7 separate regions of the Homo sapiens genome follow, and all the other regions are linked to region 2. The links are contacts of gene promoters, found by promoter capture Hi-C in blood cells and fetal thymus (Javierre and others, 2016). All regions are on one chromosome and are shown on one strand. Each heading gives the region's core, a stretch centred on a gene start or on the middle of the fragment in contact. The rest is flanking DNA. Distances are from core to core; before and after follow the strand shown. Region 1 overlaps KLF7 (KLF transcription factor 7). Region 2 holds the start of METTL21A (methyltransferase 21A, HSPA lysine). Region 3 has its middle 27 kb from the start of CRYGD. Region 4 has its middle 15 kb from the start of PLEKHM3. Region 5 has its middle 45 kb from the start of CRYGD. Region 6 has its middle 34 kb from the start of PLEKHM3. Region 7 overlaps KLF7 (KLF transcription factor 7).

The links. The method cuts DNA at HindIII sites, captures the fragments that hold promoters and counts their contacts. A CHiCAGO score of 5 or more calls a contact.
Region 1: a contact is called between a fragment that was not itself captured here and the fragment with the promoter of METTL21A in region 2, in 1 of 17 cell types (neutrophils). The highest score is 7.8, in neutrophils.
Region 3: a contact is called between a fragment that was not itself captured here and the fragment with the promoter of METTL21A in region 2, in 1 of 17 cell types (M2 macrophages). The highest score is 5.6, in M2 macrophages.
Region 4: a contact is called between a fragment that was not itself captured here and the fragment with the promoter of METTL21A in region 2, in 17 of 17 cell types (total B cells, naive B cells, M2 macrophages and 14 more). The highest score is 11.9, in total B cells.
Region 5: a contact is called between a fragment that was not itself captured here and the fragment with the promoter of METTL21A in region 2, in 3 of 17 cell types (megakaryocytes, endothelial precursors and erythroblasts). The highest score is 7.1, in megakaryocytes.
Region 6: a fragment that was not itself captured here is called in contact with the fragment with the promoter of METTL21A in region 2 in 13 of 17 cell types (megakaryocytes, M2 macrophages, erythroblasts and 10 more); the score reaches 11.8 in megakaryocytes.
Region 7: a contact is called between a fragment that was not itself captured here and the fragment with the promoter of METTL21A in region 2, in 2 of 17 cell types (neutrophils and monocytes). The highest score is 6.2, in neutrophils.

What each region holds. Positions count from the first base shown.
Region 1 is chr2:207,115,694-207,119,409 of GRCh38, reverse strand. The region is part of intron 2 of KLF7 (KLF transcription factor 7); the gene reads left to right. Among named protein-coding and RNA genes, the nearest start is that of MIR2355, 7.5 kb to the right of the region's middle. The HindIII fragment of the contact is 3,153 bases long and covers 865-3,716 here.
Region 2 is chr2:207,623,026-207,626,917 of GRCh38, reverse strand. It overlaps METTL21A (methyltransferase 21A, HSPA lysine), which reads left to right and starts at 1,524. Exons shown (of 4, transcript NM_001127395.5): 1 at 1,524-1,856; 2 at 2,514-2,689. The coding sequence starts at 2,543. RefSeq lists enhancers at 1-353, 354-1,058 and a silencer at 1,329-1,928. The HindIII fragment of the contact is 10,824 bases long and covers 1-3,892 here.
Region 3 is chr2:208,095,761-208,099,505 of GRCh38, reverse strand. No RefSeq gene overlaps it. Among named protein-coding and RNA genes, the nearest start is that of CRYGD, 27 kb to the left of the region's middle. The HindIII fragment of the contact is 9,375 bases long and covers 1-3,745 here.
Region 4 is chr2:208,038,675-208,042,620 of GRCh38, reverse strand. No RefSeq gene overlaps it. Among named protein-coding and RNA genes, the nearest start is that of PLEKHM3, 15 kb to the right of the region's middle. The HindIII fragment of the contact is 1,185 bases long and covers 1,985-3,169 here.
Region 5 is chr2:208,077,786-208,081,893 of GRCh38, reverse strand. No RefSeq gene overlaps it. Among named protein-coding and RNA genes, the nearest start is that of CRYGD, 45 kb to the left of the region's middle. The HindIII fragment of the contact is 1,730 bases long and covers 1,690-3,419 here.
Region 6 is chr2:208,057,633-208,061,723 of GRCh38, reverse strand. It overlaps the pseudogene RPL12P17. Among named protein-coding and RNA genes, the nearest start is that of PLEKHM3, 34 kb to the right of the region's middle. The HindIII fragment of the contact is 7,297 bases long and covers 1-4,091 here.
Region 7 is chr2:207,136,759-207,140,435 of GRCh38, reverse strand. The region is part of intron 1 of KLF7 (KLF transcription factor 7); the gene reads left to right. Among named protein-coding and RNA genes, the nearest start is that of KLF7, 27 kb to the left of the region's middle. The HindIII fragment of the contact is 2,208 bases long and covers 780-2,987 here.

The DNA.
Region 1 (3,716 bases), core at 1,192-3,691, 510 kb after region 2:
ATGTAAAAAAAGAAGGATTTTCTACATTTCTTCTTAATTACTTCTGAGAAGAGATAAAAAACCTTTCATTGAAATGGTGCTTTGTGCTAAGTAAACAGACTTTTCAAATTTGAAAATCCATATAAAGGTACGTCCACATTTATGTTATTATGAGTGAGTCATATTGGTGAAGTCAGGACAATGGCCTGTCATTAGATCTTTGATTCTTGTTTGCAGTGAAGGGAGATGTGAAGAAGCCATGTTCTCTGAACGTGCTGCTTGGAGGACTCTCTCTATAGACTGAAGTTGCTGTCACCTAAACCATGGGTGGTGATAAGCATTCTCTAGATTTTGTCCCGAACAATATAACAGGATACGTTTCAGGTGGAAAAGTAATACAAGTGTGCAATTTGCTTAGCATTTTACATTTTCTTTGGGGCCCATCTTATTGAATCAGAAAGTGGCACAATCTGTAAGTTTAATCAGAATTTAGGGAAATAGTTTATTTTCAAATGAAAAGGTGGCTAAAAATACTACAAACAAAAAGACCAGTGTAGCATTCAAAAGGCAAACAGAAGTGTTATGTCACACATGTAATGAAAGGCCTTTAAAGTTTGAAATACAGTTTATTTTACTTATTCAACAAATACATATAAAGCACTTGCTATGTCCCAGACATTGTTCTAAATGTTTTACAAATATTAACCCTTTTAATCCTTATACTAACCCAATGACATAGGTACCATCTTATTTTATAGATGAGGAAAATGAGACCCAGAGAAGTCAAGTAATTTGCCTGGCGTCACACAGCTCATCATAGATGGTTGGGCAAGGATTTGCACCAAACAGTATTGCTCCAGTGGGAGCTCTCTTAACTTCCAAGCTTACTAATAAAGGGGAAACAAGTCAAATGAATTTTTTAAAAGTAACCTGTTATTAAGAGGAAATTAAAGACGTATAGTTTAAATGCAAATGGACGATGAAAACTAAATATCCTCTCTAAATAGGTGAGAATTAGGAGGGTCCTTAAACATATTGCCTCATCAGGTGACTGAGAAGCAGTACAAGGAAATTACAAAGAAATGGTCTTCCATTTCCAGGCCTATTATCGTTACTGATAAAGCTACTATTTTATGGTTGTTACTATTTTCACTTTTTTTAATGTTAGTGTTAAAGAGAGACATGCCAGTCTCAGTTCACGCATTAAAATGACAAATGTTAATATTCTGTCCCTATCAAATAAGAAAGGTCAGTATTATCACAACATGGGAGAAACTGAGGAACCACAACAACAAAAAAGTAACTTGGTTCAGGCTATGCAAGTCCCTGTTGTTAGAAATTAAATTGGACCCATGTCTCCTGACCTATAGGCTTACATCCTACTCAGTAGATTGTTTTGCTTCTTATTTACTGTATGTGTTCTTCAGTCTTTCTGCGAACAGGTATTAAGTGCCCATAGATGTCAGGCACTGTACCATGGAGTGACCAGCAAAGGAGAACAGGGTGGTCCATTTGGGAAGGAGTGCTGAAGGGTGGTGATGGGGCAGTAAATGAAAGCAGGGGCTTGCAGCAGCAGTCAGAGGCAGCATGGAAGATTTGGAGATAACAAGTCGCTTCTCTCCTTCTGGACAGAGTGTTTATTGATGCTGTTCATCTTTTTAAATGATGTCAATGTGATAGTATAGTAATTTATATAAATAGAAGCCCTAATTCAAGGTCAGGCATATCAGCAGGATAAAATTTAATACCTCAGTGTGGAACTGTAGGGGGTTCATCAACCACTTTCAACCTGCTAGTGCCATAGATAAGAATTCTTTGAATTTATACAATAGCAACTGAAATGGGGCGATTTTAAGACATTAAAGGGCCTTTAATATGCCGAGACACATGGCTGCTAATGAAGTTTATCCATGTGTTGAGGCAGAAACTCATTAAACCCCGATTATGGGATGGAAACAAGAATAAGGGTTAAATGTTCAGTTCACAAGGTGGAGAGAGCTGAATAGGAGGGTTTGATAATTTGGATTTAGCATATTCAAGAGCTTAAGAGAAGTTTGAAAAGAAAGGGTATGAAATGAGGTGGTGAAAAACAATCGCTGGGAGAATTTTCTGATTCAGTAAAATCTTAAAACTTTACCACATGGTAATTTAGCAATATGATAACTCCTAACATTTATGAAGATAAATTAATGTAAACATATATTGGGAAGCATGGCCTAAACTCAGCATATACACAGCAAGCACATTTATTTTATCATTATACTATGATAATAAATATAGGCTTTGTGGGACGCCTATTCCAGATGTCCTTTTAATGGATAATTGATAGTCACAAAGCAAATAAGTATGTTAAAATAAGAATCGAGGAGAAAGAAAAGCATGAAATTAATGAGTATTTCATCATAAACAATATTTTCGAACACCCACTGTACATACACTAGTCCCTCTTTATTGCCGAGGACCTCGCTTTTTGACACAAAAGCCTGAAATATGGTTTCATAAAATCATTATATTTGGAACTTGATCTCAGAATATAGTTTGGATGGGGGATGTGGGGGAACTGGGAGGAAGGAGAAGAGAAAAGAGGAATCTCATTTCAGAAAAGGCAGTGAAAGTAATAGAATTTTATAAATTCAAAGGTTTCAAGGGTGGGCGAGTTCTGTTTGATAGAGAAGAAAAGAAGAGGGTCATGAGAAGTCTGTGTAAATGAAAAAATGACATTGAGAAGGCCAAGTGTAAACTTTTAGAAAAACTGTTCCTTTTAATAAATTGATAATGTACAGAGGCTGTTTCTATTATAATATGAGTGTTAATTACCGTCATGATCATGGTTATCCTGTACATATAATATAGGAAGGTTCAAGGAAAGCTATGTGGAGCTTTGTAAAGAGTGAAGGCTAAGATGACGTTATAAGAATTGATGGTAGGCAGGGATTTTCTATGTTTCCTGAAGTTGAAATAATAATGTAGTGATTGTGTTTGAATTAGAAAGAAATGGAGTTTAAGAAACTCACGTGTTAATTTTTTTAAACAAATTGGTTTTGAATGGTCCTCTTTTTAAAAAAATTAAAATATAAGGACAGATGAAAAATAATTGTAAGGTGACCTGTCTTTCTTTGAAAAATATTCAGCTTGAATGTAGTAGAAATTACAGTTGAAACCTTGATAACGGATCCTCAGGAAACAAACTTCATATAAGGAAATTAGTTCTGATGAGTAAATGCAGCTGTTTGGGAATCTGGTCCACCAGGGGCAGAATGTGTCAGATGACACTAAGCTCTGCTGCACGACTCCGGTACCGAATGGAGAACGCCTAACCCTTTCCAGGCAGGCAGTTTCTATTTGTCTTCACCCTGATGGAGGCAAACTGGATAGCCCTGGCCAAACTTGTTTTCTAAAATATGGGGTTTTTTTCTTCTGCATTCCCTACCTAAGTACCTAATATCTGATCCCTTCCTGTACTCTGTCACTTTCTGCCCTGCAGCTTTCCTCTATCCTTCACAGCAGAAAGGATCTGGTAGCAATACACTGTAGACTGTTGTGGTTGGTACACTGTAGACTGTTGTGGTCAGTGGATTATACGTCCATCCACCAGTGTATAACACTTTAATCTTCTATTATTAGTTTTTTAACCTTCAATTAGGGGAAACTTAATAGAATTTCAGTAGTCTGTAAACAGGTAGGGAGACATGATGGGGGAGTGTTGGGAACTGGGATGGCATTCCCCCACTTTACTC
Region 2 (3,892 bases), core at 275-2,774:
AAAAAAATCAGCGCTCGGGCGGTAGGGGTGGGGGAGGTGGCAGTGGTTCACACCTGTAATCCCGCATTTTGGGAGGCTGAGATGAGCGGATCACCGGAGATCAGGAGTTCAAGGCCAGCCTGGCCAACATGGTGAAGCCCCGTCTCTACTAAAAACACAAAAAAAGCCGGGTGTGGCGGCGGGCGCCTGTAATTCCAGCTACTTTGGAGGCTGAGGCAGGAGAACTGCTTGAACCCGGGAGGTGGAGGCTGCAGTGAGCCGAGATCGCGCCACTGCACTCCAGCCTGGCGACAGAGCAAGACTCCGTCTCAAACAAACAAACAAAATCCCACAAAAATTAGCTGGCGTGCTGGCGCAGGCCTGTAATCCTAGCTACACGGGAGAATGAGGCAGGAGAATCGCTTGAACCCGGAAGGCGGAGACTGCAGTGAGCCGAGTTCGCGCCCTTGCACTCCAGCCTGGGCGACAGAGAGAGACTCCGTCTCAAAACAAAAACAAAAACAAAAACAAAAGCAAAAAACCAAACAAAAAAATCAGCGCTCGGGCCCCCTCCCATGGCCAGCTCTTGGGGCGGGGGACTGGTAAGGGAGGTTTACCCCAGCTGGTTCTAACGTGCAGCCGCGCTGAGAGCGCAGCGGGCGGTGTGGGGCGAGGGGCCCCAGGAGGAAAAAGAAGCCTGCCCCGGGAGGATGCCGGTCCCCGCACGGTCCCACTCAATGGACCCACTCCAGCCGCGCGCTCTGCCAGGGCCTGCGGCCAGGGTACCAGGCCCTCGGCACCTTCCACGTCCAGCGTGGGTCCTCACGGGCAGGTGCGTCTTGGCATCGGGAGGAGGGAGACTGGGGCACTGGAGTCTGCAGCGCCGCCTGGGGCCGGGGCTGGAGCCGAGCGCACGCCCAGAGCTCCGCGCTTCCGACTGCAGCCAGAGCCCGCCGACCCCCGCCCCACTTTAAAAACTTGGACTCGGGCGCCACGTGTTCACTTCCCCCACTGTGCTTTAGTTGAAAAGGGTTTTGTGACTTTTCCACTCGATTGCCGCCAAGCGGGCTATTACGCCGCTTCTGACCCCACCGTGGAGACGCGGGGACTAGAGTGACCATGCCTTCTTCGGAGCGAGCTGTCTCCATCATCCGCTAACGCGCCACCTTTAAAAAACAGGCACAACGCGCAAGCGACAAAGTCAGAGGCAGAGAGCGGCGGAGCACATGATAGAAAAGGTCGAGAGGCACATTCAGCGCCAGGTGGGTGGCTTTTCTCTCCCGCTAGGAGAGCCCAGGGCACCCCATGCTCTCCCTGTGCACCCGCGGCAGTTCGGCACCCCGATCTCACTCTTGCTCCCGCCCCCACAGCGCCTCCCTCGGCGGCGGGGGAAACGGATTAAGTCGTCCGTGTACCCTGGGGACGCACGAGGGAAAGCCCCGGTCCCCCCTCCCGCAACGTCACTCCTCCACCGCGCCACGGCCCGGCCCCGCCCTCGCCGTGAGCTCCGGGGGCACCTGCCGGAGGCTGGGTGCCGGGAGACCGGAAATGCGTGGCTCCGGGCCGGGGCCGCCCGCCCCCGCGTCGCGGGCTCTTTAAGGCCGGCGGTTTTCGCAGCCAGCCCGGGGCGGGGAAAGCGGAGCGCGCGCTCCACGCGGGACCGCCTCCCGGGCCGTAAGTACCGGCGTGGCGGCGCCTCAGCCCGGCCTGGGCGAGCCCTGGGTGCTCCGCCGGGCAGCTCACGGCGCCCCGTATGGCCTGGGGATCCTAAGAGGCCCTGTGACCCCCCTCGCCTGGTCTCCCTCTCACCCCTGGAGGGTTGCCGCAGCTCCGGGGCCCCCGGGCAGGAAGGGCGCACTGGTCGTCCCGGGAGAGGGGTGAGTGGGGGGCAGCTATAGGGGGAGTTCGGGGAGGCCTCCGAGTCCCCGCTGTCCCCGCGAGCCGCTTGGAGGCCCCCAGTGTCGCTCACTTCCAGGGTCGGGGAGACGGAACTGCGGCGACCATGTATTTCTGGTTTATCAAACCGCTAACACCCAGTCTAAGGGCAGGTTCTGTCCCATTGTTATCACTATCGAAGCAGCCGATGGAGGAGGGGAGGTGGGTAGCGAAACCGTAGCGAAAGAACCCGGGCCGCCCGGCTGGCTGCAGCTGCAGTCCGGGCGCCCGGGTCTGGGTTGGAAGCGCTGCTTTCCGCGCTGCTCTGGGGCCCTGGGCGATCACCGCCGCTTCCGCCGCTTGTGTAGTTCTGAATTCACGGAGTGGTAGCAGTGCAGTGTATAGGGTATTCTGCGGAAGTTGGAATGTTCTGGGCTTTTTTTTTCTTCTTCCCCAAACACATCCGTTGACACAAATTCCGAGCCAAATCTCACTCAGATTCGGAAGAGCCATGCAAAAGAAATTGGACAAAGGCTTCCTCCACCTGTTTCTTTTTTTCTTTTGAACTTGTAAACGACCTTAAAAGCATTTGGAGTTAGTTAAGAACAGATAATGTATCTTTTGGCCAGAGCGTCACCCAGGATTCTTTTGCACGGCAGGTCTGAGCAGAGGGCGGGGTGCAGGCGGAATGGCCCTCGTGCCCTATGAGGAGACCACGGAATTTGGGTTGCAGAAATTCCACAAGCCTCTTGCAACTTTTTCCTTTGCAAACCACACGATCCAGATCCGGCAGGACTGGAGACACCTGGGAGTCGCAGCGGTGGTTTGGGATGCGGTAAGTAAGCCCTGGGGGACCTCTGAAAACGTTCACACTTGCAAGACTGGCTTTTATTTTTTATTTTTTTTAGAACAGCTTTATTGAGATATAATTCACATAGCATACACTTTACCTATTTAAAGTGCACAATTCAGTGCGGTTTTAAAAATACAGTATATTCACAGAGTAGTGCAACTATTACCGCTTCAATTTTAAAAGTTTTACTATCACTGCCACTCTCAAACCCGTATCCCTTAGTCACTCCTCTTGTCCCTCCACATAGATTACATTTTAAAGGTGTAAATGAAAGCTGAGGAAAGTTAATGACTTGTCGGAGAGGATAGGAAGGAAAGCCCCCAACTGCTTTGGACACGAGTTAGTCTTTTTTTCTTTTGAGACATAGTCTCGTTCTGTTGCCCAGGCTGGAGTGCAGTGGTGCGATCCTGGCTCAATGCAGCCTCCGCTTCCTGGGTTCAAGTGATTCTCCCACCTCAGCCTCTGGAGTAACTGGGGCTACAGGTGCACGCCACCACACCTGGTTAATTTTTGTATTTTTTGGTAGAGATGGGGTTTCGACATGTTGGCCAGGCTGATCTGGAACTCCTGACCTCAAGTGATCCACCTGCCTCAGCCTCCCAAAGTGCTGGGATTACAGGCGTGAGCCACAGCGCCCAGCCGAGTTAGTCTCTTTATTTCACAGAGTATTGTAAAGTGGCAGAGCCCAAAATGGAGATTATGTGTTTTCTTTAAGTTTTCCATAGTTGTAATTGTTAAAAAATTGTAACTGCTTTTTAACTTCTTCCTCTCCCTGCCCTGTTCTGACTTGAGCCCTCAGCATCTAGCCCCACACCTAGGACTCAGTGGGAACTCAATTAATGTTGAATGCATGATTGGCATAAATACAGTTTGACAGTTTTAACATTGTTAGGGATGTTAAACACGTAGGAATAAAAATCTCAATATATTCTAATGTAGTAATACCACTTCTAGGAATCCAGTCCAGGTAACTACATGGAAGTTACTCTGGTAATAATAAAGATATAGGCCTGGTGTGGTGGCTCACACCTGTAATCCCAGCAGTTTGGGAGGCCGAGGTGGGCAGATCACTTGAAGTCAAGAGTTCGAAACCAGCCTAGCCAACATGGCGAAACTCCATCTCTACTGAAAATACAAAAATTAGCCGTGGTGGCGCACACCTGTAGTCCTAGCTACTCGGAAGGC
Region 3 (3,745 bases), core at 183-2,682, 470 kb before region 2:
AATCCCAGGGGCAGATTTCTTGTGAATGGTTTAGCATCACCCCTCGGTGCTGTTCTCGTGATAATTAGTGAGTTCTCACGAGATCTGGTTGTTTAAAAGTGTGTAGCATCTCCCTGCTCGCTCGCTCTCTTGCTCCTGCTCCAACCATGTGACAGGCTGCTATCCCTTTGCCTTTCACCATGATTGTAAGTTCCCTGAGGCCCCCAAGAAGCTGAGCAGATATCAGCATCATGCTTCCTGTACAGCCTGTGGAACTGTGAGCCAATGAAACCTCTTTTCTTTATAAATTACCCAGTCTTGGCAGGGCACAGTGGCTCATGCCTGTAATCCCAGCACTTTGGGAGGCCAAGGTGGACAGATCATTGAGGTCAGAAGTTCAAGAACAACCTGGCCAACATGGTGAAACCCTGCCTCTACTAAAAGTACAAAAATTAGCTGGGCATGGTGGCGCACACCTGTAATCCCAGCTACTTGGGAGGCTGAAGCAGGAGAATTGCTTGAATCCAGGAGGCAAAGACTGCAGTGAGCCAAGATTGCACCATTGCACTCCAGCCTGGGCAACAGAGTGAGACTTCATCTCCAAATAAATAAATAAATAAATAAATAAATAAATAAATAAATAACCCAGCCTCAGGTATTTCTTTATAGCAATGTGAGAATGGACTAATACAGAGATGATTAATGGACACACACAAAAATAGAAAGAATGAATAGGACCTAGTTATTAATAGCACAACAGGGTGAGTATAGTAAAAAAAAAATGTAATTGTATATTTTAAGATAACTAAGAACATAATTGGATTGTTTGTAACACAAAAGATAAATGCTTGAGGGGATGGATACCCCCACCTACCCTGATGTGACTATTACACTTTGCATACCTGTATCAAAATATCTCATGTAACCCACTCTAGGCCTCCTCTCTGCTATAGCTGAACACTTGACAGGTTGACCTGCCTGCAGAGAGGAGCCACCAATTCCAGAGCCACCTCTCTGCTGAGAGCTGAAGACTCAACAGAGACGAGCTACTCACTATGGGTCTCCTCTAAGCTGTTCTAACACCCAGTAAAGTGCCTCTTTGTCTTGTTCACCCTCCACTTGTCTGCATACCCCATTCTTTCTGGACGCAGGACAAGAACTCAGGCAAAAGTGCCACTGGCCACAGAGGTTTCCAGCCAGAAAAGTGACACCCCAAAGATCTCATAACACCACCACTCCCAGATAATTTTTGTACTTTTTTGTAGAGACTGGGTTTTGCCATGTTGGCCAGGCTTATCTCTAACTCCTGGGCTCAAACAATCAGACTGCCTTGGTTTCCCAGAGTGCTAGGATTGCAGGTGTGAGCTACCGTGCCCAGCCAAAAATCACATTCTTTAAGTATCTGGAATCTATTTCCAGATATGTAAAGCTGGCTTCTCGGTGCTGTATAATATAACCCATGCAGCAGTGAGCAAGTGTTGAGCAGCTGCTGAAAGGACCACAGCTTTGGAAGGCTTCCCTGCTGTTTTCACAGTGTTTTTTCCTGCCACGCAGCCAATAATAATAATCAACAACATTCCTAGACTGTTTCAAGGGTGTCGGGCATAGTGTCATTTACTTCACATCCATTTGATTTTTCAATCTTTTCGTAACAAACATATGAGTCAGGTACTAGTAGTATCTGCATTTAACAAGGATATATGTTCAGAAATTAAAGAATTAGTCCAGTGCCACATACAAATAAAAGTTGCAAAACCAGGATTGGAGGCCAGAGTTTTCTGACTCCAGAGTCCCCACATTTCACCATTAAGTGATACTGCCTCTCTGTGGATAAGGAGACACTTGGACATAGAAGAAGGGTGTGAGGGGTGGTTACAGGAAAATGTGTATATTTTTTCCTGGGCCGTGGCATTTCTAGCAGTAATTTACTCAATAGAAGGGATAGCGAAAGCAATGAATATGGACATCAGGAGCTTGGCCAGGTACCAGGGACCCACACCTAGCAGGCTACTGCCCGATTCTGGGCATCCATCCCAGTAGGGACCTCAGGCAAGAAGCTGAAGCCAGTGAAGCAAAATGCAATTCCCATTAGAGGGAAGGCTGGCTGGTGGGCAGAAGTAGCTTAATGTCTAGGCAGTATTTTGTGATTTTGCTCACCTCTATTACTTCAAAGAACACTGACTATAACATATGTTGGCAGAAAAAGCCCCAACACCTGAATAGTCAAGTTTTCTAATAGGTTGACTAGCAGATTTTCTCATTGGTTTAATGATTAGAAGGGTAAAGTCTGCAGGTAATAGGTGTTGGTAGCTGGGTGGACTTGAGCAGGTAGGAACTAAGAAGGGTTCAAGAACAGCCAACCTCAACATGGAGTGAGACACAGGTTAGGAGATGCTATGGGCCGGGTGCGGTGGCTCACACCTGTAATGCCAGCACTTTGGGAGGCCAAGGAAGGCAGATCACGAGGTCTGGAGATTGAGACCAGCCTGGCCAACATGGTGAAACCCCGTCTATACTAAAAATACAAAAAATAGCTGGGCATGGTGGCAGGTACCTGTAATCCCAACTACTTGGGAGGCTGAGGCAGGAGAATCCCTTGAACCAGGGAGTCGGAGGTTGCAGTGAGCTGAGATCGTGCCACTGCACTCCAGCCTGGGTGACAGAGCAAGAGTCCATCTCAAAAAAAAAAAAAAAAAAAAAGATACATGACAGCCACGACATGAATTCAACTCATCCTTTAATAACGGTTGAGTGCCTTTTATGTCCCAGGTCTTAACGCTGCTGAGTTAAGCAGAAACATTTCAGGGATGATAAGATAAAGTCGCTGCCACTAAGGAAAAGGGAGAAAGAATAGCATTGATTGAGCTTTTACTCTGTGCCAATCACTGTATCTGGTTGTGGGAATGCAAAGAGGAATAAGTCAGAGCCTTTCCCCTTAGAGAGCTTAGAGTCTAGCCAGAGGAGCCAGACCCACAATTAACTCCATAAAGTAAAATGTGGTTAGCTTTGTAGGTGCCCAGGATGTGAAGGGCTGCAGAGCATGGAAGAGGAAATACATGAATTCACCCTGTGTAGGTAAAAGAGGATTTTCTATCTTCCATGGAGATGACATTTGAAATGGATTTTAAATTCTGATTAGGTATTTAACAATTGAGAAAGTAGGAGGACATTGTTGGCACCAGAACAGCATGAAAAAGACATGAACATAGGGAGGCATGGTGGGGCATGGTACATAGCAGACAGTGTGGAGCCCAGCATGGCTAGAGTACAAGACATAAGGGGCGGATAGAGGTGAAGGGCAGCGAAGACTAGAAAGTGGGTAGATCAGGGTTTTAAGTACTTTCAGGTAATAGAGGACCACTGAAGCCTTTCAGCAGGCTTGATGCAATCGGGCCTGTTTCCTTAAAGACAAAGAACTGACAAATGAGAGGAAGGATGGAAGCAAGAAATCCAGGAAGCCACAAGAGTGTTAGCAGAGAGCAGGGCCAACTCCAAGTGTATCTGCTCCTTGATAGGGGTCAGCTGGACATAGCCTGTGCCTCCCATTTTGGAGAAATAAGAGCTTAGGGTAGCCAGATCTTCTCACTTTTTGCGAAAACCTAAAACTGTGCATTCAATGGCAATTACCTACCCCAACACTGATTTTTAATGTTGCTTAAACATCTTTAAATCACCACACAGGACAAGCAAAACATCCTCAGTTAAATTTCTGTACAATTAGGAATACAGGAGGGATTTAAATTCCAAACAGGGCCGGACGCGCTGG
Region 4 (3,946 bases), core at 1,328-3,827, 410 kb before region 2:
AGCAGTCTGGGTCTAGGTGGCCATACTAAGTATAAAATACACGTATGCAATCAATTTCTAGCTTTTTTTTTTTTTTTTTGACAGGGTCTCACCCTGTTGCCCAGGCTGGAGTGCAGTGGTGCAATCACAGTTCTTTGCAGCCTCGACCTTCTGGGCTCAAACAATCCTCCCACCTCAGCCTCCCAAGTAGCTGAGAATACAGGTGTGCACTACCACGTCTCGCTAATTTTTAAGTTTTTGGTAGAGATGAGGTCTCACTATGTTGCCCAGGCTGGTCTCAAACTTGTGGGCTTATAGCTTTATATTTTTAAAAGGAGTGATAGGATACACGGCTTCAGTCAGCCCACTGAATGCCTGATCCCATTCAGTATGAGTCATGGTACATTCAGCTGGCTGTATATGGCCTGATGGCCTTCTCTCCAGGGCAGCTAAAGGCAACAGAATACACACCCAATCCATGCTGTTACTCTGCATCTACTGAAGCCCATGCTTCCTTCTCTAAACAGTAGAGAAAGTCCCCAGTTTTCTTGGGGATCATAAATAATTGGAACAATTCCACCCACCTATTTCTGTGCTGGCATATCTGGAGTGCTGAGACACTCTAATTCTTCAACTTCTTCTTTGGATAGACCCTCTGTTCTCTTTCCCACAGGGTCTTGAGAAGACAGGAGGCATCGCTAAAGCTTGTGTATGTCTACTTGTGCCTTGTGAGTCTGTTATTGTGTAAAGATGCTCTCAGAGGGGGAATGAGAATGTGCTTCTAGTTCTGCCCCTAAAACTAGAAAATTAGTCTTTAATCCCATAGGAAAAGAGACCTGGCCCCTTACGCTGATCTGAGAAAATATGGAATATAGGTAGTTCCCAAATATACCGGACATAGGAACCTCTCAGGGAATAAACTTTGGTTGATAAATTGCAAACAGGCGGCCAGGCGCAGTGGCTCACGCCTGTAATCCCAACACTTTGGGAGACTGAGGCGGGCAGATCATGAGGTCAGGAGATTGAGGCCATCCTGGCTAACACGGTGAAACCCCATTTCTACTAAAAAAAAAAAAAATGAAAAAAAAATAGCCAGGCGTGGTGGCACGTGCCTGTAGTCCCAGCTACCCAGGAGGCTGAGGCAGGAGAATCACTTGAGCGACAGAGCAAGACTCCATCTAAAAAAAAAAAAAAATTGCGAACAGGCATGGAGGAGCCGGGGTACAGTATTTTGAATCACTATACACAATGCAACAAAGATTTATTAAGCACTCAGGTCACAAACATTGTACTGGGCACTGAGGACAGGATGGTACAACAAAAATAGGCAGAATTATTGCTTATGGAACATGTGGTTATTCTCATGAAGCTTACAGTTTCACAGCAAGGTAATTATTAACATAAAAGCATTCTGATAAGTATAAACGTTTACTGTAAATGCTGTGAAGAGGAGCATATGGTGCTATAATTGCATGATATAGACGTCGTCAACCTAGAAGGGGCACTAAGGGACAACTTTCCTGAAGGGCTGACTACTGAGCTGAGAGCTGAAGGATGAGTGGAAACTACTCGGGTAAAGAGTGTTCTAGACAGAATGATATGCAAAGGCCCTGTGGCAGGAATGAGCATGAATTGCTCATGGCATTGAAGAAGGCTGCAGTGGCTGAAGCAGACGCTAGGGGGAGCATGGTACAAGATGTTGCTAGGGAGGAAAAAAGGACCAGACCATGTCTGGGTCTCTTAAATCACAGTAAGAATTCTTATGAGCAATAGGAAGCTACTGAAATGCTTAAGCAGGTTTCTGTTTTGAAAGAGCTACTCTGGCTGTTGGCTGTTGCAGAGTTAATGGATTGAAAGGGCCAATAGTGCTGCTAGGAGGTGATTGCAGGACAATTGCAGTCACCCAGAGGAGAGAAGATGGAAGCTTGGTCTAGGGTTGGGAGAGGGGAAATGAAGAGAGGTAGACAGCTCTGCACAGAAGAGTTCCCTGTATGTGATGCAAGCTTCTAGGAGAGCTAAGCATTTGAAGCCTTTGTTATAAAGCTAACTGATTATGGAACAGTAGTTTTAATTTAGGTGGCCGTATTAGGTTTGTAAGCATGTGATTGACTTCTAGCTTCATATTTTAAAAGTGATAATGGGACAGGCAGTTTTTCTAGAGAAGTGGAGTCCTGGAGAGTGAGTAGAGAAGCCAGCTCAAGGAGAAATTCCTCAGGAGTGCCATTCTGCTTTATCACCACTGAGTGCTGCTGTTTCCAATGACAAGTTCCCAAGAAACCAAAGGGCCAAGTAAGGTAAGAGGAACAGTGGCGGGGGAGCGGGGGGTTGGCAGGGGGCAGCGGGGAACCAACTTAGAGTTTTAAAAAGTGGAGAAGACAAAGATGTTTTCTAATTTTGGAAACCTGAGTCCTAAGCTGCAAGGGTCCAAATCAAATTTTTGGGAAGGTCATTTTGTAATATGGTAACTTCTTGCTTTACTGTCAGCATCTCTAAAGACAGTCCCCAGTAATAAAGGGGCCAAAAGAGGCTTTTTTAGAACCATTAGTGTACCCCTCCTGTACAGTCCCATTAGCGGGCCTTGTTAAACCAACCCAGACAAAGAGCAAAGATGCCCTAGTTAATGGAGAGTCTCCGATAATTACTCTGCTCAGCCGCTTCTTTTAGGGTCTGAATGGTCTTTAAATAATGTTTCTCTTGCTGTGGTCACAGACAATGACCTAGCAGTCTGCTTTAAGCGGTGCCAATCCCATTAGCCGAAGAATAGCAAAGCTCTGTGTGTGTCTGCGTGCCAAGGAGCGAGTGTGTGTGTGTGTATGTGTCTGTGCGTGCATGTGCGTGTGGTGAGGAGCTCAGCTTATGGCAGGGATCAGGCTTAATGTTGCTTTCTTCCTCTTTTCCTCCCTTTCTCTACACATCCATCCCTCCCAGGAACCAAACATACCACTGTGTCTATTGGGTCATCTGCCTGTTGAGTGACAACCTGCCCTTACTGAAAATGGAAACAGACTCCCTTAAATGCTTGCGGACGATGTTTCTCATTCCTACTTACTAAACACTTCTCTGTAGGATGTGATTCTAAACATGCCCCTGTCCTCTAAGAACTTCACGTCCCAGAACCACAATAATGCAAACAATGTAAAGTCACCCCAGTAAATGTGTGCCATTCAGGGTGGAAAATGTTTTAAAAGCTTCATAAATGTGGAAGAAAAAGATTGAGGGTACAAAAGTTATAGGAAGAATGCCAAGATCTTTGGAATATTTTCCTCTGTGGCTCTCTCTCCTGATGCCTTGCAACTCTTTTTTCTGATAATGAGAATGCTTACTTATATTTGAAGACAAGTTATATCCCAGACACAGAATGTGGAAACGGGGCAACATTAATTTATTTAGGAAGGATCGAGTGCTCCAACATGAAAGTGTGAATAAGTTCGATCGTGAACTGTTTTGTAATAAAAATGTACAAAACAACATTCAGAAACACTGCCGTAAATGGAACCTGGTTGCAACCTGCTCTTGCCCACCGTTGTCTGGAGGACTTTTTCAGAAGCTCCAGAGTGGTCTGATTCAACAGTTTTTGAATCAACTGAGTGTGAAAACAGGCTAGCATAAGTAGGTAGGGTGACTCCACTCACACAAATACATGGGAGTGAGTTATTTGCAGCTCATTAAGTATCACAGGGCCTCTCCCCACCACATACCCACCCATCACCCACATCATATGCCTCCTAGGAAGAATGATTATATTGAAGCCAACAGGATAAAAGAGCCATTTTCTGTTTCTGGGTTCTAGAAAGACATCCTAGACAAAGAAATAGTCTACTTGGTAAAACTAAAAAGATGCTCCATTTAGTTCTTACTTTCTTTAACTTTGATCTGCAGTTGTTGTTGTTGTTGTTGAGACAGGGTCTCACTCTGTCACCCAGGCTGGAGTGCAGTGGCATGATCTTGGCCTGAGCAACAAGAGTGA
Region 5 (4,108 bases), core at 1,305-3,804, 450 kb before region 2:
CTCTTAGTACCACTTTTGCTGTACCCCAGAGGCTTTCATAGGTTGTGTCACTATTATCATTCAGTTCAAAGAATTTTTTAATTTCCTTCTTGATTTCATTGTTGAGCCAAAGATCATTCAAGAGTAGGTTATTTAATTTCCATGTATTTGCATGGTTTTGAGGATTCCTTTTGGAGTGAATTTCCAATTTTATTCCACTGTGATCTGAGAGAGTACTTGATATAATTTCAATTTCCTTAAATTTATTGAGACTTTTGTGGCCTATCATATAGTCTATCTTGGAGAATGTTCCATGTGCTGATGAATAGAATGTATATTCTGCAATTGTTGGGTAGAATGTTCTATAAATATCCATTAAGTCCATTTCTTCTAGGGTATAGTTTAAGTCCATTGTTTCCTTGTTGGAAACAAGGGCTCAAGGGCTGCTGTTCAGATTCTTTCTAACTTGACGACATGTCTAGTGCTGTCAGTGGAGTATTGAAGTCTCCCACTATTATTATGTTGCTATCTGTTTCATTTCTTAGGTCTAGTAGTAACTGTTTTATAAATTTGGGAGCTCCCGTGTTAGGTGCATATATATATAAACTCATATATATATATATCACATAGAAACTCATATATCACATATAAACTCATATATATATATATGAGTGTAATATTTTCCTGTTGGATTAGACTTTTTATCATTATATAATGTCCCTCTTTCTTTTTTAACTGTGTTGCTTTAAAGTCTGTTTTGTCTAAGAATAGCTACTCCTGCTTGCTTTTGGTGTCCATTTCCATGGAATATCTTTTTCCACCCCTTTACCGTAAGTTTATCTGAGTCCTTACGTGTTAGGTGAGTCTCTGGAAGCCAGCAGATGTTTAGTTGGTGAATTCTTATTCATTCTGCCATTCTGTAGCTTTTAAGTGGAGTATTTAGGCCATTTACATTTGGCATTAGTATTGAGATGTGAGGTGTCATTCTCTTCATCGTGCAAGTTGTTGCCTGAATACCTTATGTTTTTTTAAAATTATTTTATTGTTTTATAGGTCCTGTGAGATTTATGCTCTAAGAAGGTTCTATTTCGGTGTATTTCTTTTTTCTTTTTTTATTTTGTTATGGGGACTCGCTGTGTCACCCAGGCTGGAATGCAGTGGTGCACTCTCGGCTCACTGCAACTTCTGCCTCCCAGGTTCAAGCAATTCTCATGACTCAGCCTCCAGAGTATCTGGGACTACAGGTGTGTGCCACCACACCTGGCTAATTTTTTGTGGTTTTAGTAGAGACAGGGTTTCACTGTGTTAGCCAGGATGGTCTTGATCTCCTGAACTCGTGATCTGCCCACCTTGGTCTCCCAAACTGCTGGGATTACAGGCTTGAGCCACCATGCTCGGCCTATTTTGGTGTATTTTGAGGCTTTGCTTCAAGATTTAGCACTCCTTTTAGCGGTGCTTGTAGTGCTGGCTTGGTAGTGCAAATTCTCTCAGCATTTGTTTGCCTGAAAAAGACTGTATCTTTTCTTTATTTATGAAGCTTAGTTTTGCTGGATACAAATTTCTTGGCTGATAATTGTTTTGTTTAAGGAGGCTAAAGATAGGACCCCAATCCTTTCTAGGTTGCAAGGTGTCTGCTGAGAAATCTGCTATTAATCTGATAGATATTCTTTTATACATTACCTGAAGCTTTTGCCTTATGGCTCTTAAGCTTCTTTCCTTCATCTTGATTTTAGATAACGTGATAACTATGTGCCTAGGGGATGATCTTTTTGCGATGAATTTCCCAGATGTTCTTTGAGCTTCTTGTATTTGGATGGCTAGATCTCTAGCAAGCCTGGAAAAGTTTTCCTCAATTATTCTCTCAAATGTTTTCCAGACTTTTAGATTTCTCTTCTTCCTCAGGAACGCCAGTTATTCTTAGTTTTGGTCATTTAACATAATCCCAAACTTCTTGGAGACTTCGTTCATTTTTTTAATTTGTTTTTCTTTGTCTTTCTCAGATTGGGCTAATTCGAAAGCCTTGTCTTCAAGCTCTTAAGTTCTTTCTTCTACTTGTTCTATTCTATTGTTGAGACTTTCCAGTGTATTTTGCAATTCTCTAAGTGTGTCCTTCATCTCCAGGAGTTGTGATTGTTTCTTATTTATGCTATCTATTTCTCTGGAGATTTTTCCTTCCATACCCTGTAACATTTTTAAAATGTCTTTAAGTTGGTATTTACCTTTCTCTGGTGCCTCCCTGAGTAGCTTAATAATCGACCTTCTGAATTTTTTTGCTGGCCATTTAGAGATTTCTTCTTGGTTTGGATTGTGAACCTAGAAAACCTGAGACAGCTCTCAGTTAATTTAGAAAGTTTATTTTGCCAAGGTTGAGGACGGACCATGACACTGCCTCAGGGAGTTCTGATGACATGCCCAAGGTGGTCGGGGGCACAGCTTGGTTTTATCCATTTTAGGGAGACAGAAGACAACAATCAATATATGTAAGAAGTACATTGGTTCTATCTGGAAAGGCGGGACAACTTGAAGCAAAGACAGGAAGATTCAAAGCAGGGAGGGATCTTCCAGGTCACAGTTAGGTGAAACACAAACAGTGCATTCTTTTGAGTTTCTGATTAGCCTTTCCAAAGAAGGCAATCAGATATGCATCTATCTCAATGAGCAGAGGGATAACTTTGAATAGAATGGAAGGCAGATTTGCCCTAAGCAATTTCCAGCTAGTTTTTCCTAGTGATTTTGGGGCCCAAGATATTTTCCTTTCACAGGATCCATTGCTGGTGAGCTAGTGTGATCTTTTGGGGGTGTTAAAGTGCCTTGTTTTATCATATTACCAGAATTGTTTTTCTGGTTCCTTCTCATTTGGGTAGACTATGTCAGAGGGAAGATCTGGGGCTCAAGGGCTGCTGTTCAGATTCTTTTGTCCCATAGGGTGCTCCCTTGCTGTGGGGCTCTCCCCTTTCCCCTTGAGATAGGACTTCCTGAGAACCAGACTGCAGTGATTGTTATTTCTCTTCTGGGTCTAGCCACCCAGTGGAGCTACTGGGCTCTGGGCTGGTACTGAGGAGGGTCTGCAAAGAGTCCTGTGATGTGCTCCATCTTCAGATCTCTCAGCTGTGGATACCAGCACCTGCTCCAGTGGAGGTAGCAGAGGAGTGAAGCGGACTCTGTAAGAGTACTTGGTTGTAGTTTTGTTTAGCGTGCCGGTTTTCTCAAATGCTGGTTGTACTGACAGTAAAGCTATCATGTGGACAGACTTAGGACCTCTGGTTAGCCAGGATGTTACAGGCAGTGGAGTTAACCATTGTTTTCTCCTTTCTTGGGGCAGGGTTATTCTTTGATGAGTTGCTGTAACAGTTTGTGTTGGTTGGCCTCCAGCTAGGAGGTGGCGCTTTCAAGACAACTTCAGACAACTTCAGCTGCGGTAGTATGGGGGGACGCAAGCTTGCCCTAGGGTCTCCTGGATGAGCCTTCAGGTTTCTCAGGTGATGGGCGGGGCCCTAGAACTTCCATGAGTTGTACGTCTTTTGTTTTTGGCTACCAGGGCAGGTGGAGAAAGACCATCTATCTGGTGGGGGTAGAGTCAGGTGGGTCTGAGCTCAGACTCTCCTTGGGCGGGGCTTGCCGCAGCCACCTTGGGGGAGGGGGTGTGGTTCTCAGGCCATTGGAGTAGGTTCCCAGTAGGACTATGGCTGCCTCTGCTGTCATACAGGTCGCCAGGGAAGTTGCGGAAAACTGGCAGTGACGGGCCTCACCCAGCTCCCACGCAGACTGAAAGGCCAGTCTCACTCTCCCAGTGCTCCTCGACAGCACCGAGTTTATATCTAGGTGAGTTTATTTGCCAGTGAGCAGGACTGGGAACTCCCTCCACCGCCACCATACAAGCCTCGCGCCTAATAAAGCAAGCAGGGCTTTCAGGCCTTCCCCTCCTCGCTGCGGCTTCTGTGCTCCTATCTGGACTTCCTGTTTGCCCCCGACCCCAGATTCTGCTCTGGAAAATTCATGCTTGAAATCATTATAAAGTTCAGCTGGAAGTTTCCTTCTCCCTGTGGGCTTTCCCTAATTCCACTGGCAGCCCGCTCCCCACAAGGGCCCCTGTGAGATAAAGTCAGAAATGGGTTCTCTGAGCTTCCCT
Region 6 (4,091 bases), core at 966-3,465, 430 kb before region 2:
GGGCAGACTTGAATGATGTGAATGGGGGAATCACATGAAGGTCCTTGGAGAAGACCCTGCCATGCACAAGGAGCATCTGCAGAGCCCGGGGGCCACACAGCCAGAAGAGAAAGCAAGGGAGAGACAGGGAGAAAAAGGGCTTCAGGTGCACAGTGCCTAGAGCAAGTAGGTACTCCAGGTTCCCCAAAAGGAGTTTGGATTTTGTTCTGCGAGAAAGGATGCTTTTTTGCAGGGGTATGACACGTGTGATCTTTAAATTTGGCTGCCATGGAGAAAATGGACTGTAGTGAGGGGGAAAGGGGGAGGCTGGTCAGAAGTCACTGTGCTGATCATGTGACAGATGACAGGGGCTTGGACCAGGGGACCACAGAGGACAAAAAAAGAAGCAAAGTGGAAGAATGTGGGAATTTTTTTGGAAGACAAACTAACAGGACTTACAGATGGACTGAATTTGGGAGTGGAGGGAGAGGAAGAGCCCAGGGTGGCTCTCTAGTTTTTGGTTTGAGTAACTGGGCGAATACCAGTACCATGTATTAAAAAGAGGTGACTATTGGAGAAGGAGCAGGTTTGGGGCAAAACCATAGAGATCTATTTTAGACACATTATTCAAGATACTTGGTTACTTCCCACTAAGTTTTAATAACCTAGCATAAGTTATATTGTCCTTTTCTATTCTTCTTTCATCCCCAATTAGAGTTGTTCCCAGGACAGTGTTTAACCTAAATGTGAAAGAAGATATGGCAAATCATCATTTGATCATTTCTGAAGGTCTCAAGCATTATCCTTCTATAAAAAGGATTAAATAAGGCCGGGTGAGGTGTCTCACGCCTGTAATCCCAGCACTTTGGGAGGCCAAGGCGGGCAGATCACCTGAGGTTGGGAGTTTGAGACCAGCTTGACCAACATGGAGAAACCCCGACTCTACTAAAAATACAAAATTAGCCAGGCATGGTGATGCACGCCTGTAAGCTACTCGGGAGGCCGAGGCAGGAGAATCGCTTGAACCCGGGAGGCGGAGGTTGCAGTGAGTCGAGACCATGCCATTGCACTCCAGCCTGGGCAACAAGAGCGAAACTCTGTCTCAAACAAACAAACAAAAAGGATTAAATAGTCTGGGTGGAGTGGCTCACGCCTGTAATCCCAGCACTTTGGGAGGCCAAAGTAGGCAGATTGCTTTGAGTTCAGGAGTTCGAGCCTGGTCAACATAGTGAAACCCCATTTACACACACACAGACAAACACACAAATCAGCCAAGCATGGTGGCTCACACCTGTAGTCCCAGCTACTTGGGAGGCTGAGGCTAGAGAATTGCTTGAGTCTGGGAAGCAAAGGTTGCAGTGAGCTGTGATCACGCCACTGCACTCCAGCCTGGATGACAGAGCGAGACCCTGTCTCAAAAGAAAAAGGGGGGAGGGATTAAATAAATATTGTCATTGATAGCAAAAGCTGTTTGGATCTAGTTGATGATATAATCTAGATACATGTCCTTGCCCAAACCTCATGTTGAAATGTAATCCCCAGTGTTGGAGATGGGTCCTGATGGGAGGTGTTAAGGTCATGGGGGCAGATTTCTCATGGCTTGGACCTGTCCTGGAGATAGTGAGTGAGTTCTCATGAGATCTGGTAATTTAAAAGTGTGTGGTACCCCCACCTTCACTCTCTCTCTCTTGCTCTTGCTTTTGCCGTGTGAAGTGCCAGCTCCCACTTCACCTTCCACCATGAATAAAAGCTCCCTGAGGATTCACCAGAAGCCAAGCAGATGCCAGCACCATGCCTCCTGTATAGCCTGCAGGAATATGAGCCAATTAAATCTCTTTCCTTTATAAATTACCCAGTCTCAGGTATTTCTTTATAGCAATGCAAGAATGGCCTAATACAGCTGATTTCAACTATAGTCAAGGAGGGGAAAAAAGTAAGTGGAGGTTAAACAAAGTTGTTTGCCGTTTTTCACATAATCAGGAGCAGAGATAAAGTTATAACTTGCAAGTGGCTCTATTCAGGCTGATGGTGCACGATCACAGTGCTTTGGTTACCTGGTGGGCCTCATGGGCTGAGGCCTCAAAGGCATAACCAGGCCCTATTGTGATCTCTGCATTGGAAACATGGGACCTTTTTTCAGCATCTGCCATCCACAAGACACTGTGCCCAGGACTTTCACCATGTCTCATAAGGTAGCCCTACTATTATTCCTAGGCAGCTCTTTATTCCCAGAGGGTTTGCCTTGACTTCTTAGATATAATGGATCATTTGAGTTTTGCTTGTGAAATTGTGAAAAGTCTTTAAGAGCAAACACATACCTCAATGAGACCATAAAGGGGTTAAGGCATGTGCAGTGCTTTGAGGTGTTCAGGTGAAAAGCTCTCAGTAGTATTAATTATTATTCTTTTAGTTAAAAGTAGCTCTTTTTTTATATATATACTTTAAGTTCTAGGGTACACGTGCACAACGTGCAGGTTTGTTACATATGTATACATGTGCCGTGTTTGATTGCTGCACCCATTAACTTGTCATTTACATTAGGTATTTCTCCTAATGCTATCTCTCCCCTATCCCCCCACCCCACGACAGGCCGGGGTATGTGATGTTCCCTGCCCTGTGTCCAAGTGTTCTCATTGTTCAATTCCCACCTATGAGTGAGAACATGTGGTGTTTGATTTTCTGTCCTTGCGATAGCTTGCTCAGAATGATGCTTTCCAGCTTCATCCATGTCGCTACAAAGGACATGAACTCATCCATTTTTATGGCTGCATAGTATTCCATGGTGTATATGTGCCACATTTTCTTTTTTTTAATATATATATATTTTTTATTATATTTTAAGTTCTAGGGTACATGTGCACAACATGCAGGTTTGTTACATATGTATATATGTGCCATGTTGGTGTGCTGCACCCATTAACTCGTCATTTACATTAGGTATATCTCCTAATGCTATCCCTCCCCCCTCCCCCCTCCCCACACCCCAAAACAGTCCGGGGTGTGTGATGTTCCCCTTCCTGTGTCCAAGTGTTCTCATTGTTCAATTCCCACCTGTGAGTGAGAACATGCGGTGTTTGGTTTTTTGTCCTTGGGATAGTTTGCTGAGAATGATGGTTTCCAGCTTCATCCATGTCCCTACAAAGGACGTGAACTCATCATTTTTTATGGCTGCATAGTAATGTGCCACATTTTCTTAATCCAGTCTATCACTGATGGACATGTGTGTTGGTTCCAAGTCTTTGCTATTGTGAATAGTGCCACAATAAACATACTTGTGCATGTGTCTTTATAGCAGCATGATTTAAAATCCTTTGGGTTTATACCCAGTAATGGAATCACTGGGTCAAATGGTATTTCTAGTTCTAGATCCTTGAGAAATCGCCATACTGTCTTCCACAGTGGTTGAACTAGTTTATACTCCCACCAACAGTGTAAAAGCATTCTTATTTCTCCACATCCTCTCCAGCATCTGTTGTTTCCTGACTTTAATGATCACCATTCTAATCATTGTGGTTTTGATTTGCATTTCTCTGATGACCAGTGATGATGAGCATTTTTTCATGTGTCTGTTGGCTGCATAAATGTCTTCTTTTGAAAACTGTCTGTTCATATCCTTTGCCCACTTTTTGATGGGGTTGTTTGATTTTTTCCTGTAAATTTGTTTAAGTTCTTTGAAGATTCTGGATATTAGTCCTTTGTCAGATGGGTAGATTGCAGAAATTTTCTCCCATTCTGTAGGTTGCCTGTTTACTCTGATGGTAGTTTCTTTTGCTGTACAGAAGCTCTTTAGTTTAATTAGATCCCATTTGTCTATTTTGGCTTTTGTTGCCATTGCTTTTAACAAAACAATAAGTAAAACATGAGTCCACAAAAAGCTGTGAGAGGGATATACCTTATAAAGACCTTGGGTTCTTTCGGCTCTTGGCTTGGAGGAGGCCAAGGTGCAACTTTCTTCCGTCATCCTGAATCCGGGTTCATCCATCACCAGCCACCTCCACCATGCTGCAGAAGTTCGACCCCAACGGGATCAAAGTCGTATACCTGAGGTGCACTGGGGGTGAAGTCAGTGCCACGTCTGCGCTGGACCCCAAGATCGGCCCACTGGGTCTGTC
Region 7 (3,677 bases), core at 634-3,133, 490 kb after region 2:
TGGTGTTGGAAAATGCATTAGTCTCTAAGGACTGGGAGAAAAATGTTGACTTATTTAGTCCAATTTGTATTTTCATATTTATTAAAATTAGAAAATGTTTTTTAAAATGTTGGATAGCAGGTTCAAATCCCCCCTTTAAAAATTATATAAATTTGAGTTTCTATGTATTTGGTATTAATCAAATAACCAAAATAAGGTCTTCAATAAATTGTGTTTATAAGTTTTCTCAATTCAAATCTTAAAAAAACAGGCCAGGCCCAGTGGCTCATGCCTGTAATCCCAGCACTTTGGGAGGCCGAGGTGGGCGGACCACGAGGTCAAGAGATTGAGACCATCTTGGCCAACATGGTGAAACCCCATCTCTACTAAAAATACAAAAATTAGCTGGGTGTGATGGCGGGCACCTATAGTCCCAGCTATTCGGAAGGCTGAGGCAGGAGAATCGCTTGAACCTGGGAGGCAGAGGTTGCAGTGAACTGAGATTGCGCCACTGCACTCCAGCCTGGCGACTGTCTCAAAAAAGAAAGACTCTTGTCTCAGAAAAGAAAAAAAAGATCTTAAAAAATGATTCTAATTCTATCTGTTTTCCTCTCAATGACTACACTTGATGTTGACAGGTTGAAATGTCTGAAATCCCATTTGCTTTTAACAATTCAACCAAGACTTGCAATGACCAGAGAGAACTCGGAAATTGCATAATTAAGGGTGTTGTCAAAACCAAGACTATTTGCCCCAGTCTCACCAGGAGAGATTACGTAGAGAAATGTAGTTGAAAAGCTTATGAAATGAAGTTTGGGATCTGATGGTTTCCAACTTGAGAAGATCCAAAATCTTCATCAGGAATCCTTGTTTTTCCAAGGTACTAAGAGATAATGGTTTGTTGGATTTTTAGAATGTTTTGAGATCCTTGGTGGAAAGTTCAGGGTTGGACCAGAAAAAAAAAAACCTAATTGTTAGTGGCCAAGAAACTTTTCGTTCTGTTTCTGGTCTTTTTGGTAGTATGGTTACAGAACAGTGAAAAACTCAGTTTTCTTTACTAAGTTAGGTTCCCCATAAATAGGATGGGGATTTTAATCTTTGCTGCCTATTACAGTCTCACAGGGGGACTCCAAGGTTACAAGATTACCAGATAAGTATCGATAAGCATTTTCAGATGCTTTTCCCAAAAGAATTCTCTGTAAAAGAAAAAAGAAATGTATGTCATTTCATATGGAATGGATTGGAAAAATCCCAGTTTCACCTGGGAGTTAGAGCTGTTACAGCTTTGCTCCTGTTTCTGTCAGCCTGTTTTCTAGAGAAGATGGATGGTTTCTACAGGTCTCTGATTCAGTACCTCGTGGGCTGAAAGCTCAGGGCGTGCTTTCAAAAGAGTGAGGATAAAGCATCCCCTACCTTCGCAAAAAGGATCCTCTCATTCACATAGTTGTTAGCAAATCCTGATAGTGTAGGCGCCATTTTCATTTTCTTTTCCAAAAAAGCACACGCAAGGAAGAACTCAAGTTATTGAAGATCAAGCCAAATAAATGACCAAATTTCGTGGCAATCGCAGACACAGACACAAACATCGAAATATCTCCTTATTTAAGGCAGCAGCTCTGCTGGGGCCTACATTCCAGGATTCTCAGCAGAGAAAACATGTTTTCTTTATAGAGGAGTTTTATTAGCAGCAGTGTTCCGGTATGTGGTTCAGGTTAATTAATGATGTAGTCACACTGGTGTCTTGCCATGAGTTTTATTCTAGTAAGTAGGGCACTAGGAAATTGTATTGGCATATCTTGTCATGCCAAAAAAGAATTCTTAATTTGGACCACTAAAATACATTTCCATGGGATCTGTCAACAAGGTAGTTTAAGAATTCTTAATGTGGATACTGCCTTAGACTAAGAATGAACTCACCATTAACTATAAGTAGCAGATGCAGTGGTTTCAATGAATATATGCTGTTCTTAAATATTTTTTTGGCTGAGATGATTGAGACCTCAAAGACCCAGACCACCCACAAGCTCTGGTGGAGTTGACCTTCATTGTATGAGAAGATTTGTATCAAGGACCACCTTTTTCCCATGAGAGTGTTTATTAATTTTAAATCATGATGGTGTTTTAAAACTTAATTTGTGTTGTGCATATGTAGCAACCTTCCTTGGAGGTTGAAACAACAAAGCAACTGGATTGGAAATTAGATTTTCCCCCTTATGCTGCTAATGTAGTTCTTGCTCCACTGGGATTTCTCCTTTGCATGGGCTGATGATTTCTTTGAAACTATATGGAAATTGGTTCAGACAGGAACAAAGGGGAGAGGGGATGGCAGTGATGATTCAAATTAATGTCTCTTCCTCAATGAGAGTCTGGTGTGCCTGAAAGTGCATGTCATTCGGTATCAGTCAAGCCACCTAAGGTTAAGTGAGGTGCCAGAGCTACTGGAATCCAAACTTCAGGGTCTCAGCACTTGATTTTTTTCCCTGTCATGTTGGGTTGAATTGTTAATTTGAAATCTGCAACATTGCAATGGGGTTCAGAATTGGGCAAAGCACAATTTTACTTTTCTTTACATGATGGAACATCAACTCTTCCCCTCTCCCTCATCTTTCCCCAGCCAGGATGGGAAAGATTCCTATTGCCTGACATAATGAATAAGAGAAAGAACATCTTTGTGACTCTAGGGACAACGAAAGATTTAGAGAGAGAGGCATCCAAAATACATTAAAGAGAATCTACACTTCATTAACAGTGGCACACTATGCACATGTGAATGCACACACACACTCACACTCATAGGAACCCTGTACTGCTTATATTCCATATTTCCATCCTCCACTCTTGCCTAGTTCAAACTCCATACCCTCTTAATTGGATTTTGGCTCACTTCCAGGTTCAGTGTTCGAGGGTTCTGTATCTGTGAAATAATGATCCTGAAATAAATAGCACTTCTCAGTAGAGATACCTTTTCATGTAAAATTCTTAAAGGGAGTGGGAGGGAAGGAAAAGCTTCTGTGTTTAGGAATTTATGGCAAAGATACCAGGATGGGCCCACATAGGAATTTTAAAGGACCTCACCTGTGTAAGTGGTGTGTGGGGCTTACAGAAAACACGAGTCCTCGCCAACTGCTAGGTTTGAATGGACCTCTTCATTTAAGGACCTTTCATGTAAGGACTGATAGAAGTGGGGCTGCTAATGTCAGGGAATGAATTCCTGTGACCCTCAAGTGCTTCAGAGACTGGTGGCTGGAGTTGCCTTTCTCAGGGACATCCTGTTAGGTGACAGAAATGGGAATAAAGTGGGCTGAGCCTGTCTCTTTGATCTGTTCACCCAGGATACCAGTTAATAAGCAGTCATTATGCAGGTGAGGAGAGGGGAGGGGTGGGTTTTGTTCATGTTAGTGAATGCATGATGCAATATGGACTGCTGAGGAGAAAAGCCCTCTTTGTGTCTATTTGAAATGGGCAGCCACAAGCACCCACAACTGACCTCTCCACCTTGAAAAGAGGCTCCATTTGGCTTCTGTCTGATGAGTACGAAGCAGCAAGTGCCTTCTCAGTGTAAAAACTCGCACTGAGGAGAAATGATGAGGGAGCCTTTTGACCTAATAAGGTGAGCATTTTAGGATAGATTTTCTGACTGGAGACACCAGCTCACGTGTTCCCTGGAATTCCGGGATTGATTAGTGGCTTCATTGGTT